3 separate regions of the Homo sapiens genome follow, and all the other regions are linked to region 2. The links are contacts of gene promoters, found by promoter capture Hi-C in human tissues and cell types (Jung and others, 2019). All regions are on one chromosome and are shown on one strand. The core of a region is centred on a gene start or on the middle of the fragment in contact, and the rest is flanking DNA. Distances in the headings are between cores, read along the strand shown.

Region 1 (4,039 bases), core at 922-3,421, 660 kb before region 2:
GTCTCTGTCTCAAAAAACAAAACAAAATTAAATTAAGTTAAAAAAAAAATTAGCCAGGTGTGGTGGCGCATGCTTGTAATCCTAGCTACTTGGTTGGCTGAGGCACGAGAATTGCTTGAGCCCAGTAGGCAGAGGTTGCAGTGAGTCGAGATTGTGCCACTGCACTCCACTCTAGGCAAGAGTGAGACTCTTGCCTCAAAATAAATAAATAAATAAATAAAGCTATTAAGCAATCCAGAGAGGATTTAAACTACATAGGCGGAAGGAGTATAGATTATATGCAAATACTACAACCAGTTATTTATTTATTTATTTATTTTTTGAGAGAGTGTCTCGCTCTGTCGCCCAGGCTGGAGTACAGTGGCACGAACTTGGCTCACTGCAACCTCCACCTCCCGAGTTCACGCCATTCTCCTGCCTCGGCCTCCCGAGTAGCTGGGACTACAGGAGCCTGCCACCATGCCCGGCTAATTTTTTATATTTTTAGTAGAGACGGGGTTTCACCGTGTTAGCCAGGATGGTCTCGATCTCCTGACCTCGTGATACGCCCGCCTCGGCCTCCCAAAGTGCAGGGATTACAGGCGTGAGCCACCGCGCCCGGCCTACTACAACCATTTTATATAAGGGACTTCAGCAGTCTGAGATTTAGGCATCTGTGGGAGTCCTGGAACCAACCCCTTAAGGACACTGAGAGACAACTATACCTGGTCTGTCAAACCGTTGGGGGGAGCTCGTCAATACCAAATGTAGTCCAACACATGCGGGATAAAACTCACCAAATAAAAATTCTAATTACTTTCTCTTGGTTCCCCACCATTACCTCCTTCTTTGCCAAAAGTGCCTGCTTTGCCTGGGTGGCTTTGAGGGCTTGATAAGCCTTCCTCTTTTTCAGGAGATTTTCTGGAACCAAAGGGATTTTTCTTTGCCTGATGCAGAAAATTGAGATCAGAGATAACATTTAGAAAAGAACACTTGGCCGGGCTCGGTGGCTCAAGCCTGTAATCCCAGCACTCTGGGAGGCCGAGGTGGGTGGATTACCTGAGGTCAGGAGTTCGAGACCAGCCTGACCAACATGGTGAAACCCCCGTTTCTACTAAAAATAAAAAATCAGCTGGGCGTGGTGGCGCACGCCTGTAATCCCAGCTACTCGGGAGACTGAGGCAGGAGAATCGCTTGAACCCGGGAGGCGGAGGTTGCACCGAGCCGAGATCCCGACACTGCGCTCCAGCCTGGGGGACAGAGCAAGACTCCGTCTCAAAACAAAAACAACAACAAAAAAGAAAACGAACATTCAATGGATTTCCAAACCAATTCAATATCCTGGGCTTTAGGGAACATTACTGTTTTCAAGTATCTGAAGAAAGATTCCCCTGAAACCTGCGGTTTCTGACTCCAGGCCTCATAAATCCATCCCTAATAGTCACTCATCCCCAAAGCCTCGGAAAATAATGAATCCTTTAGCCTCTGGGTTCGTATAAGTTAACAGGGTTTTCACGGCCACAGTTCTTCATAGGCACTAGCAGCGACGAATCTATGGGGTTGGGGCGGGGGCAGGCCTATCTGCAGAGTTAACACTTGTCGGGCTGGGTGAATTCAACTGTGGCACTCCAGCCCGCTGCCTGAAGTCAATCCTCGCCTCTCCAGATAACCCGAACTTGACCGCGGTCCCCTCCCTCCTCCGCCACAGCGCTACTCCTCCTCACCCCCACCCTTTGTAAACTGTGGCCTTTTCTATTCCTAGAGCCCACAGGAATCCGCCACCAAGGCATAAACACCGTGGATGGCACCGGATACTCAAGACCCCACTCCAGATATTCAAAGCCCCAAACACTCACTCTTGCTCCGCCATCTTTCTAGTGGTGCAGCTACTGATCATGCGCAACCCCACCACATGGGGAAGACAGCACACGCTCTGTTTACTTGACCATAGAGACGTCTGTTCTAGCTCACGCTGGAGGACCAGTCAGCGTTCACTTAGCCGCAGTGAGCCCTTGAGGTCCCGCTAACCCCGATTCCTGCCAAAAGTTGCACCGCTTCTTAGGGTTTTTAGAGCCTGTGTTATTTTCAAAACCCAGCCCTTTTCTTGTAAGTTACAGTTTCATCACAAGCGGCCTGGCTGTGGACAGCAAAGTGCTTCCCACAATGCACCTATGGCGTCCGCTCCTAGCTACGGCGCCGCACTTCCGGCGCGGCTGTGCTGCGTCTCTGGGGAGGAAGACAGGCAAACTCCGCGAAACATTTTCGCTCTGTGGAAAAACTTGGAGGCTATGGCTTTGGCTCTCACGTGTAGGTGGAAGTGTTTGTTGAGGACTTAGAGTGGTAAAGCAGGTAGCTGCAATTCCGTCTGCTTGGCCCCGTCGATGCGTCCTTGAACACGTTATTTAACCCCTCTATACTGCGGCTTCATTACCCATAAAATGGGTGTACAGTAATAATAGGTCTACCTAATGGCGTTACGAGGATTACAGGAGATTAGATAAAGCGTTTAGCAGTGTCTGTCAGCACTATGTTTGTTACTATTACTGCTGGACCGAAAACTACAACATGCTTCCTTCCCGTCTAAAACCGTTACACAGGCCGGGCGCGGTGGCTCACGCCTGTAATCCCAGCACTTTGGGAGGGAGGCCGAGACGGGAGGATCACCTGAGGTCAGGAGTTCGAGATCAGCCTGGCCAACACGGCGAAACCCCGTCTTGGGCGGAGGTTACAGTGAGCCGAGATCGCGCCACTGCCCACCAGCCTGGGCGACAGAGCAAGACTCCGTCTCAAAAAAACAAAAAGAAAAGAAAAGAAAAAAAAAGAATAAAAATAAAACCCTTATGCAGCTCTCATCGCCCGGAATTTGCGTTCTTCCCTCCCAGTCTATATAGAATCCTGAAAAACAGTAGGTCGGGCCGGTGGCTTTCACCTGTAATCCCAGCACTTTGGGAGGCCAAGGCAGGTGGATCACTTGAGGTCAGGAGTTGGAGACCAGCATGGCTAAGATGGTGAAACCCCGTCTCTACTAAAAATACAAAAAATTAGCTGGGCGTGGTGGCTCGCGCCTGAAGTCCCAGAAGGCGGAGGCTGCGTGAGCCGAGTTTGTGCCACTTGCACTCCAGCCTGGGCGACAGAGCGAGACAGTCTCAAAAAAAACAAGAAATAAATTTTTTTTAAAATTAAAAATCCTGAAAAACAACACAAGTCTTATCATCTCTGGAAACCTCCAGAGCAGCGCTTCTCAAGCATTAATAGTGAATAGGAGTCACCTGAAGATTTTACTAAAATACAGATTTTTATTCAGGAGGCCGGGTGGGGAGCTGATATTCTGCTTTTTTTTTTTTTTTTTTTTTGAGATGGCGTCTCGCTCTGTCGCCCAGGCTGGAGTGCAGTGGCGCGATCTTGGCTCACTGCAAGCTCCGCCTCCCGGGTTCACGCCATTCTCCTGCCTCAGCCTCCCGAGTAGCTGGGACTACAGGCGCCCGCCACCACGCCTGGCTAATTTTTTGAATTTTTAGTAGAGATTTCACCTTGTTAGCCAGGATGGTCTCGATCTCCTGACCTCGTGATCCGCCCGCCTCGGCCTCCCAAAGTGCTGGGATTACAGGCGTGAGCCACCGCACCTGGCCAATATTCTGCATTTTTAACAGGCTTCAGAGTGACGCTGGTGCTACTGGTCTATGGGCTGACTAGTAAGACTCTAGAGTAGTGTCTGATTTCCCTCAGGACATTATTATATTTTTAATATTTCTTCCACATGATACTAGGGGGGGCAGGAACCATGACTGCTTACTCATCACTGATCCTAAGGATCTAGCACCAATTTCTCGATTTTGGCACTATTGATACTGATACTGGTGGCAGCTAAAGGCCTCGTGTTGCCATGTAACTAGTCCAACCGGAAAGAGTGCCATGGGCACAGGTCACTTTCTGATGAGTAAGTGTCAGGACAACCCAGCATTCAAGGTCACACACTGAAAGAGGGAGGCTCATTCTCTTTCAGCACCTCACCATGTGTCTTTGTAAAGAGGCTAAACACAAGGGTCACCAAAGTGTAAGA
Region 2 (4,015 bases), core at 409-2,908:
AGTTTTTTTTTTGGAGACGGAGTCTCGCTCTGTTCCCTAGACTGGAGTGCAGTGGTACAATCTCAATCTCGGCTCACTGCACTCTCTGCCTCCCGGGTTCAAGAGATTCTCCTGCCTCAGCCTCCCAAATAGCTGGGATTACAGGTGCACACCACCATGCCTGACTTTGTATTTTTAGTAGAGACAGGGTTTTGCCATGTTGGCCAGGCTGATCTTGAACTTCTGACGTCAGGTGATCCACCCGCCTTGGCCTCCCAAAGTGCTGAGTGCTGGAATTACAGGTGTGAGCCGAGCCACTGCACCTGGCCTTTTCTTTTCTTTTCTTTTTTTTTTTTTTTTTTTAGACAGAGTCTCATTGTGTCTCCCAGGCTGGAGTGCAGTGGCACGATCTTGCCTCACTGCAACCTCCACTTCCCGGGTTCAAGCAATTCTCGTGCCTCAGCCTCCTGAGTAGCTGGGACTACAGGCACACAACGATGACACCCCACTAATTTTTTGTATTTTTAGTAGAGATGGGGTTTCACCATGTTGGCCAGGCTGGTCTCGAACTCCTGACCTCAGGTGATCCGCCCACCTCAGCCTCCCAAAGTGCTGGGATTACAGGCGTGAGCCACCGCACCCAGCCTGAAGAAGTTTTTATTATAGCAAATCCCAGTTATACATCTTTTTACTTGGAAAAAATTATGGTGGACATTAATAATTAGACAAAACACTTTGGCTTGTTGTAAGTGAAGCTAGCCATTGTAAATTCCTAAATACTAGAGTAACATAAGGAAATGAATAATTTAGAAAGATCAGTAGGACAGCGGTATACAAAATGGTTGGAGCACAGGAATTCCAATTGGTGTGGGGAAGGAAGAAAGGATTAAGAACCATAATTAGAAAGCCGCTGCAATAAGGTAACTGAGTGGCAACTGGACCCAATGGTAGTGGCCGACTTTTCTTTTTCTTGTTAAATATAGATTTTGTTAAAATTTTGAAAAATGCAAAAAAAATTGAAAAATGCAAAAATAGGAAAATAAATCACCCATTATTCCAGTACTGAAGTAAATGGTGTCAATACACTAGTTTCAGTCCGGGCTTTGTGGTTCATGCCTGTAATCTCAGTCCTTTGGGAGGCCAAGGCCAGAGGATCACTTGAGGACAGGAATTCAAGACCAGCCCACAAAATAACGAGAGCAATATAATGAGACCCTGTCTCTACAAGAAAATTAAAAAAAAAAACAAAAAATTAGTCGGCTGTGGTGGCACGCACTTGTAGTCCAGCTACTTGGGAGGCTGAGGCAGGAGGATCACTTGAGGCAGGAGTTTGAGGCTGCAGTGAGCTATGACTGTGCCACTGCACTCCAGCCTGGGCAGCCGAGTGAGACTCAGTCTCTAAAAGGAAAAAATAAGTAAATAAATAAATGTGTGTGTGTGTGTGTGTGTATACACACACAACAATTTAAAGGTGAAAACATTAATAGGGCTTGGTAACTATCCAGACACTGGCCGGAGCCAAACCAGCCTGGCCAGCCAACTGTCCCGCCCCCAAAAAGCACAGGTTCATGTCTCTATGGTTGTTCCAGCGCCGGAACATGAGGATGTACTCTCTTCTTTTGCGGAACTCTATGGTCTGAGGACGCCGCTGTAACCCCGGAAGCAATCCTGAGAGGTCGGGACCGGCAAGATGGCGGCGCGGACAGCGTTCGGTGCTGTGTGCCGGCGCCTCTGGCAGGTACTGGATTGGCTAGGGAGACTAGGAGGGCTGACCGGGATAGTTGCTTTTAAGTTTCCCTGCCACCAGCCGCTCTGCCCATCAGGATTTTTCCTGATATTTATCCCTCACCTCGCGCCGTTTACAGGAAAGTGACGAGAAAGGGGCTAGTTTTATCAGAATTCTCTCATGGAATTAAATATAAGTTAGTGAGTCCAGGCAAAGATAGGAACAAGAATAATCGTAGAATGTCAGAGCTGGAAAAGATTTTGTACTTCGTATGTTCCAAAACCCCTCCTTTCACGCTTGCAAAATAAACTGAGGCTCAGAGAAGACAGGAAATTTGCCTCGCGAAAATTAGAGGCTGAGCTGGTGCAAGATATCAGACTCTTCCCATGGAACTAAATTGAGATGCTTTCCTGGCATCCAAATTTAGATGAAGGTCTCAAGCCAGAGAAGTGGGTTAGATATCCTCTGCGCAGTTATTTGCAGGAGGAGCAAAAACTTTTCAGCAGCGGTTCTCCTGCTTTTTGGCCTTGGGACCACTTTACACTTTCGGAGTTCAGGACTCCAGAGAGCTTTTGTTTTTGTGGGTTTTTGCTATCTATATTTAGCTTTTTGGAAAATAAAACTTAAGAATATATATTGATTTAAAAGTAACACTAACTCATTACATGTTACAACTAATACTTTATGAAAAATATATTTTCTGAACAAACTGAGTAAGGAGCAGCAATGTTTTACATTTTTGCAGCTCTCTTTAATTTCTGGCTTAATAAAAGCTAGATTCAAATCTGCTTCTGTATTTAATCTTTTCCTATATCACACCTCAGGCTGTCACGGGAAAACTTCACTGTACACTGGTAAGAGAATGAGTGGAAAAGTTGTAAATGACGTTTTGGTTTTATGAAAATAGTTTTGATTTCCCGGATCCCCTGAAAGTGTCTCAGACCCCACAGACGTCCTCAGACTACACTTTGAGACCACCGTTTTTGTTTTTGTTTTTGTTTGGAGACGGAGTTTCGCTCTTGTCGCCCAAGCTGGAGCGCAATGGCACGATCTCGGCTCACTACAGCCTCCACCTCCCGGGTTCAAGTGATTCTCCTACCTCAGCCTCCCGAGCAGCTGGAATTACAGTCATGCGTCACCATGCCCAGCTAGTATTTGTATGTTTAGCAGAGACGGGGTTTCACCATGTCGGTCAGGCTGGTCTCGAACTCCTGACCTCAAGTGATCCGGCAGCCTCGGCCTCCCAAAGTGCTGGGATTACAGCCTTGAGCCACCGCACCCGGCCTGAAAACCACTGTTCTTGAGAAAAGTCAGATGGTATTAGAGATTGAAATTTTTGAACTGCTTTATTAAGACAAATTTACCCAGACAGCCCTCCCTTCCAAACCACCACTCCCCCAACACACACACACACACACACACACACACTCTCTCTCTCTCTCTCTCTCTCTCTCAAGAAATACAAAGAAAAAATGCAATTTAAAAACTTCTTGGCCGGGCACGGTGGCTCACGCCTGTAATCCCTACACTTTGGGAGGCCGAGGTGGGCGGATCACGAGATCAGGAGATCAAGACCATCCTGGCTAACATGGCAAAACTCCGTCTCTACTAAAAATACAAAAATTAGCTGAGTGTGGCGGTGGGCCCCTGTAATCCCACCTACTCAGGAGGCTAAGGCAGGAGACTTGCTTGAACCCAGGAGGCGGAGGTTTCAGTGAGCTGAGAATGCTCCACTGTACTCCAGCCTGGGCGACAGAGCAAGACTCTCTCAAAAAAAAAAAAAAAAAGAAAAGAAAAAAAAAAGAAAAGAAAAAGCAGAGGTTTATAGTGGGAGAATGTGACTGAGAAGTGTAATATTCTTGCTCCTCTTGCACAACTCGATTGTGGGGTCACTGGTGTAATTGTTGGGAGGGAATTTTCTATGCAATTTTGTCTGAAGAATGGCACATACCTCTTACCACTTTGTGTTGTACCTGATTTCCTTTTTCCTTTTCCCCTTTGGTGCAAAGAAGATTATAGAGTTATGATTTGTCTCTATCTTGGGTAAGGAGAGGAAGGACAATAAGCTAAGAATAGGCTTTTAAAACGTGGCTAGGTGGTGGTTCACTCCTGAAATCCCAGCACTTTGGGACACTGAGGCTGGAGGATCGCTTGAGCCCACGAGTTCAAGACCAGCCTGGGAAATATGGTGAAACCCCATCTCTACAAAAGTACAAAATATTAGCTGGGCCTGGTGGCCCGTGCCTGTAGTCCCAGCTATCTGGGAGACTGGGGTGGGAGGACCACCTGAACCTGGGAGGTCCAGGCCAT
Region 3 (4,157 bases), core at 718-3,217, 680 kb before region 2:
TTTCCCATTTTATGTTACTCATATTCGAGCACATACTAATTTACCAGAGCCTTTAACTAAAGCAAATGAACAAGTTGACTTGCTAGTATCATCTGCATTCCTGGAAGCACAAGAACTTCATGCCTTGACTCATGTAAATGCAACAGGACTAAAAAATAAATTTGACATCACATGGAAACAGGCAAAAAATATTGTACAACATTACACCCAGTGTCAGATTCCACACCTGCCCACTCAGGAGGCAGGAGTTAATCCCAGAGGTCTGTGTCCTAATGCGTTATGGCAAATGGATGTCACACATGTACCTTCAGTTGGAAAATTGTCATTTCTCCATGTGACAGTTGATGCTTATTCACATTTTGTAAGGGCAAACTGCCAGACAGGAGAAAATACTTCCCATGTTAAAAGACATTTATTATCTTGTTTTGCTGTCATGGGAGTTCCAGAAAAAATTAAAACGGATAATGGGCCAGGATACTGTAGTAAAACATTTCAAAAATTCTTAAATCAGTGGAAAATTACACATACAACAGGAATCCCTTATAATTCCCAAGGACAGGCCATAATTGAAAAAACTGATAGAACACTCAAAGCTCAATTGGTTAAACAAAAAAAGGAAAAAAGACAGTAAGGAGTATAACACTCCCCAGATGCAACTTAATCTAGCACTCTATACTTTAAATTTTTTAAACATTTATAGAAATCAAACCACTACTTCTGCAGAACAACATTTTACTGGTAAAAAGAATAGCCCACATGAAGGAAAACTGATTTGGTGGAAAGACAAGAAAAATAAGACATGGGAAATAGGGAAGGTGATAACATGGGAGAGAGGCTTTGCTTGTGTTTCACAAGGAGAAAATCAGCTTCCTGGTTGGATACCCACTAGAAATTTAAAGTTCTACAATGAACCCCTTGGAGATGCGAAGAAAAGCGCCTCTGCGGAGACAAAAAACCCTCAATTGAGCATCATCGACTCGCCAGGTAAATAAAATGGTGATATCAGAAGAACAGATGAAGTTGCCATCCACCAAGGAAGCGGAGCCACCGACTTGGGCCCAATTAAAGAAGCTGACACAGTTAGCTAAAAAAAGCCTAAAGAACACAAGGGTAATGTGAACTCCAGAGAATATACTGCTTACAGCTTTGATTATTATATCAACGGTAGTAAGTCTCCCCATGTCTGCAGGAGCAGCTGCAACTAATTATACTTACTGTGCCTATGTGCCTTTCCCACCCTTAATTTGGGCAGTCACATGGATGGATAATCCTGTTGAAGTATATGTTAATAATAGGGCATGGGTACCAGGCCCCACAGACGATTGTTGCCCTGCCCAACCTAAAGAAGAAGGAATGATGATAAATGTTTCCACTGGGTATCATTATCCTCCTATTTGCCTAGGGAAGGCACCAGGATGTTTAATGCCTACAACCCAAAACTGGTTGGTAGAAGTACCTACCGTCAGTGCCACCAGTAAATTTACTTATCACATGGTAAGTGGAATGTCACTCGGGCCACAGATAAATAATTTAGAGGACGCTTCTTATCAAAGATCATTAAAATCTGGGCCTAAGGGGAAGCCTTGCCCCAAGGAAATTCCCAAAGAATCAAAAAGCCCAGAAGCCTTAGTTTGGGAAGAATGTGTGGCTAATACTGCGGTGGTATTACAAAACAATGAATTTGGAACTACTATAATATTATATAATAGTTATATATTATATTATATTATATACAATTATATTATATATAATTGTATGGGCCAGACTCACTCATGTTTACAGGCCCCATCCATCTGGCCCATTAATCCGGCCTATGATAGTGATTTAATTGAAAGGCTGGACCAGGTTTATAGAAGGCTAGAATCACCCTATCCCTGGAAATGGGGTGAAAAGGGAATTTCATCACCTCGACCAAAGTTAGTTAGTCCTGTTACTGGTCCTAAACATCCAAAATTATGGAAGCTTACTGTGGCCTCGCACTACATTAGAATTTGGTCTGGAAATCAAGCTACAGAAACAAGAAATCGTAAGCCATATTATACTATCAACCTAAATTCCAATCTGACAATTCCTTTACAAAGTTGTGTAAAACCCCCTTATATGCTAGTTATAGAAAACATAGTTATTAAACCAGATTCCCAAACTATAACCTGTGAAAACTGTAGATTGTTTACTTGCATTGATTTGACTTTTAATTGGCAGCGCCATATTCTGCTAGTGAGGGCAAGAGAAGGTGTGCGGATCCCTGTGTCCATGGACCGACAGTGGGAGGCTTCGCCATCTTCCATATTTTAACGGAAGTATTAAAAGGAATTCTAACTAGATCCAAAAGATTTTTACTTTGATTGCAGTGATTATGGGCCTTATTGCAGTCACAGCTACTGCTGCAGCTGCTGGAATTGCTTTACACTCCTCTGTTCAAACTGCAGAATATGTAAATGATTGGCGAAAGAATTCCTCAAAATTGTGGAATTCTCAGACCCAAATAAATCAAAAATTGGCAAACGAAATTAATGATCTTAGACAAACTGTCATTTGGCTGGGAAATAGGCTCATGAGCTTGGAATATCTTTTTCAGTTACAGTGTGACTGGAATATGTCAGATTTTTGTATTACACCCCAAGCCTATAATGAGTCTGAGCATCACTGGGACATGGTTAGATGCCATCTACAGGGAAGAGAAGATAATCTTACTTTAGATATTTCAAAATTAAAATAACAAAATTTTGAGGCATCGAAAGCCCATTTAAATTTGGGAACTGAGGCAATCGTGAAAGCTACTGATGGCCTCACAAATCTTAACACTGTCACTTGGTTAAAAACCATCAGAAGTTCCACTATTGTAAATTTCATATTAATCCTTGTATGCCTGTTCTGTCTGTTGTTAGTCCACAGGTGTATCCACCAGCTCCGAAGAGACAGCGACCAGCAAGAACGGGCCATAACGACGATGGCAGTTTTGTCAAAAAGGGGGATATGTAGGGAAAAGAGAGATCCGACTGTTACTGTGTCTACATAGAAAAGGAAGACATAAGAAACTCCATTTTGATCTGTACCCTGAACAATTGTTTTGCCTTGAGATGCTGTTAATATGTAACTTTAGCCCCAACCTTGTGCTCACGGAAATATGTGTTGTATGGAATCAAGGTTTAAGGGATCTAGGGCTGTGCAGGATGTGCCTTGTTAACAAAATGTTTACAGGCAGTATGCTTGGTAAAAGTCATCGCCATTCTCCATTCTCGATTAACCAGGGGCACAATGCACTGCAGAAAGCCACAGGGACCTCTGCCCAGGAAAGCCAGGTATTGTCCAAGGTTTCTCCCCACTGAGACAGCCTGAGGTATGGCCTCGTGGGACGGGAAAGACCTGACCATCCCCCAGCCCGACACCCGTGAAGGGTCTGTGCTGAGGAGGATTAGTAAAAGAGGAAGGCCTCTTGCGGTTGAGATAAGAGGAAGGCCTCTGTCTCCTGCATGCCCCTGAGAACGGAATGTCTCAGTATAATACCCGATTGTACATTCGTTCTATTCTGAGATAGGAGAAAACCGCCCTGTGGCTGGAGGCGAGATATGCTGGTGGCAATACTGCTGTGTTATTCTTTACTACACTGAGATGTTTGGGTGGAGAGAAGCATATATCTGGCCTATGTGCACATCCAGGCATAGTACCTTCCCTTGAACTTATTTGTGACACAGATTCCTTTGCTCACATGTTTTCTTGCTGACCTTCTCCCCGCTATCACCCTGTTCTCCTGCTGCATTCCCCTTGCTGAGACAGTGAAAATAATAATCAGTAAATGCTGAGGGAACTCAGAGACTGGGGCCAGTGCAGGTCCTCCGTACGCTGAGCGCTGGTCTCCTGGGCCCAGTGTTCTTTCTCTATACTTTGTCTCTGTGTCTTATTTCTTTTTTTAGTCCCTCGTCCCACCTGACGAGAAATACCCGCAGGTGTGGAGGGGCAGGCCACCCCTTCAAAATTCTTTATTATACAACATTCAATATGGTCAGTTTCCTCCAGACTGGCTTCTCAAGCTCTTACCAAGTGCCCCCTACCCCAATTTTTTTTTTTTTAACAGAGTCTCTGTTGCTCAGGCTAGAGTGCAGTGGAACAATCTTGGCTCACTGCAGCCTCAACCTCCTGAGCTCAAGTGATACTCC

Evidence for each region. Contacts are between HindIII fragments. The study calls those that stand out against the background at their distance.
Region 1: a contact is called between the fragment with the promoter of RPL7L1 here and the fragment with the promoter of MRPS10 in region 2, in 1 of the 25 tissues and cell types used here (IMR-90 fibroblasts).
Region 3: a contact is called between a fragment that was not itself captured here and the fragment with the promoter of MRPS10 in region 2, in 1 of the 25 tissues and cell types used here (lymphoblastoid cells).

What each region holds. Positions count from the first base shown.
Region 1 is chr6:42,877,748-42,881,786 of GRCh38, reverse strand. It overlaps RPL7L1 (ribosomal protein L7 like 1), which reads right to left and starts at 2,171. Exons shown (of 6, transcript NM_001366481.3): 1 at 1,836-2,171; 2 at 821-926. The coding sequence starts at 1,876. RefSeq lists enhancers at 1,910-1,969, 1,245-2,201, 1,990-2,459, 2,202-3,159. The HindIII fragment of the contact is 12,927 bases long and covers 1-4,039 here.
Region 2 is chr6:42,215,504-42,219,518 of GRCh38, reverse strand. It overlaps MRPS10 (mitochondrial ribosomal protein S10), which reads left to right and starts at 1,658. Exons shown (of 7, transcript NM_018141.4): 1 at 1,658-1,717. The coding sequence starts at 1,670. RefSeq lists enhancers at 1,491-1,770, 2,342-2,943, 2,944-3,546. The HindIII fragment of the contact is 13,512 bases long and covers 1-4,015 here.
Region 3 is chr6:42,893,487-42,897,643 of GRCh38, reverse strand. No RefSeq gene overlaps it. Among named protein-coding and RNA genes, the nearest start is that of PEX39, 4.7 kb to the right of the region's middle. The HindIII fragment of the contact is 6,847 bases long and covers 1-4,157 here.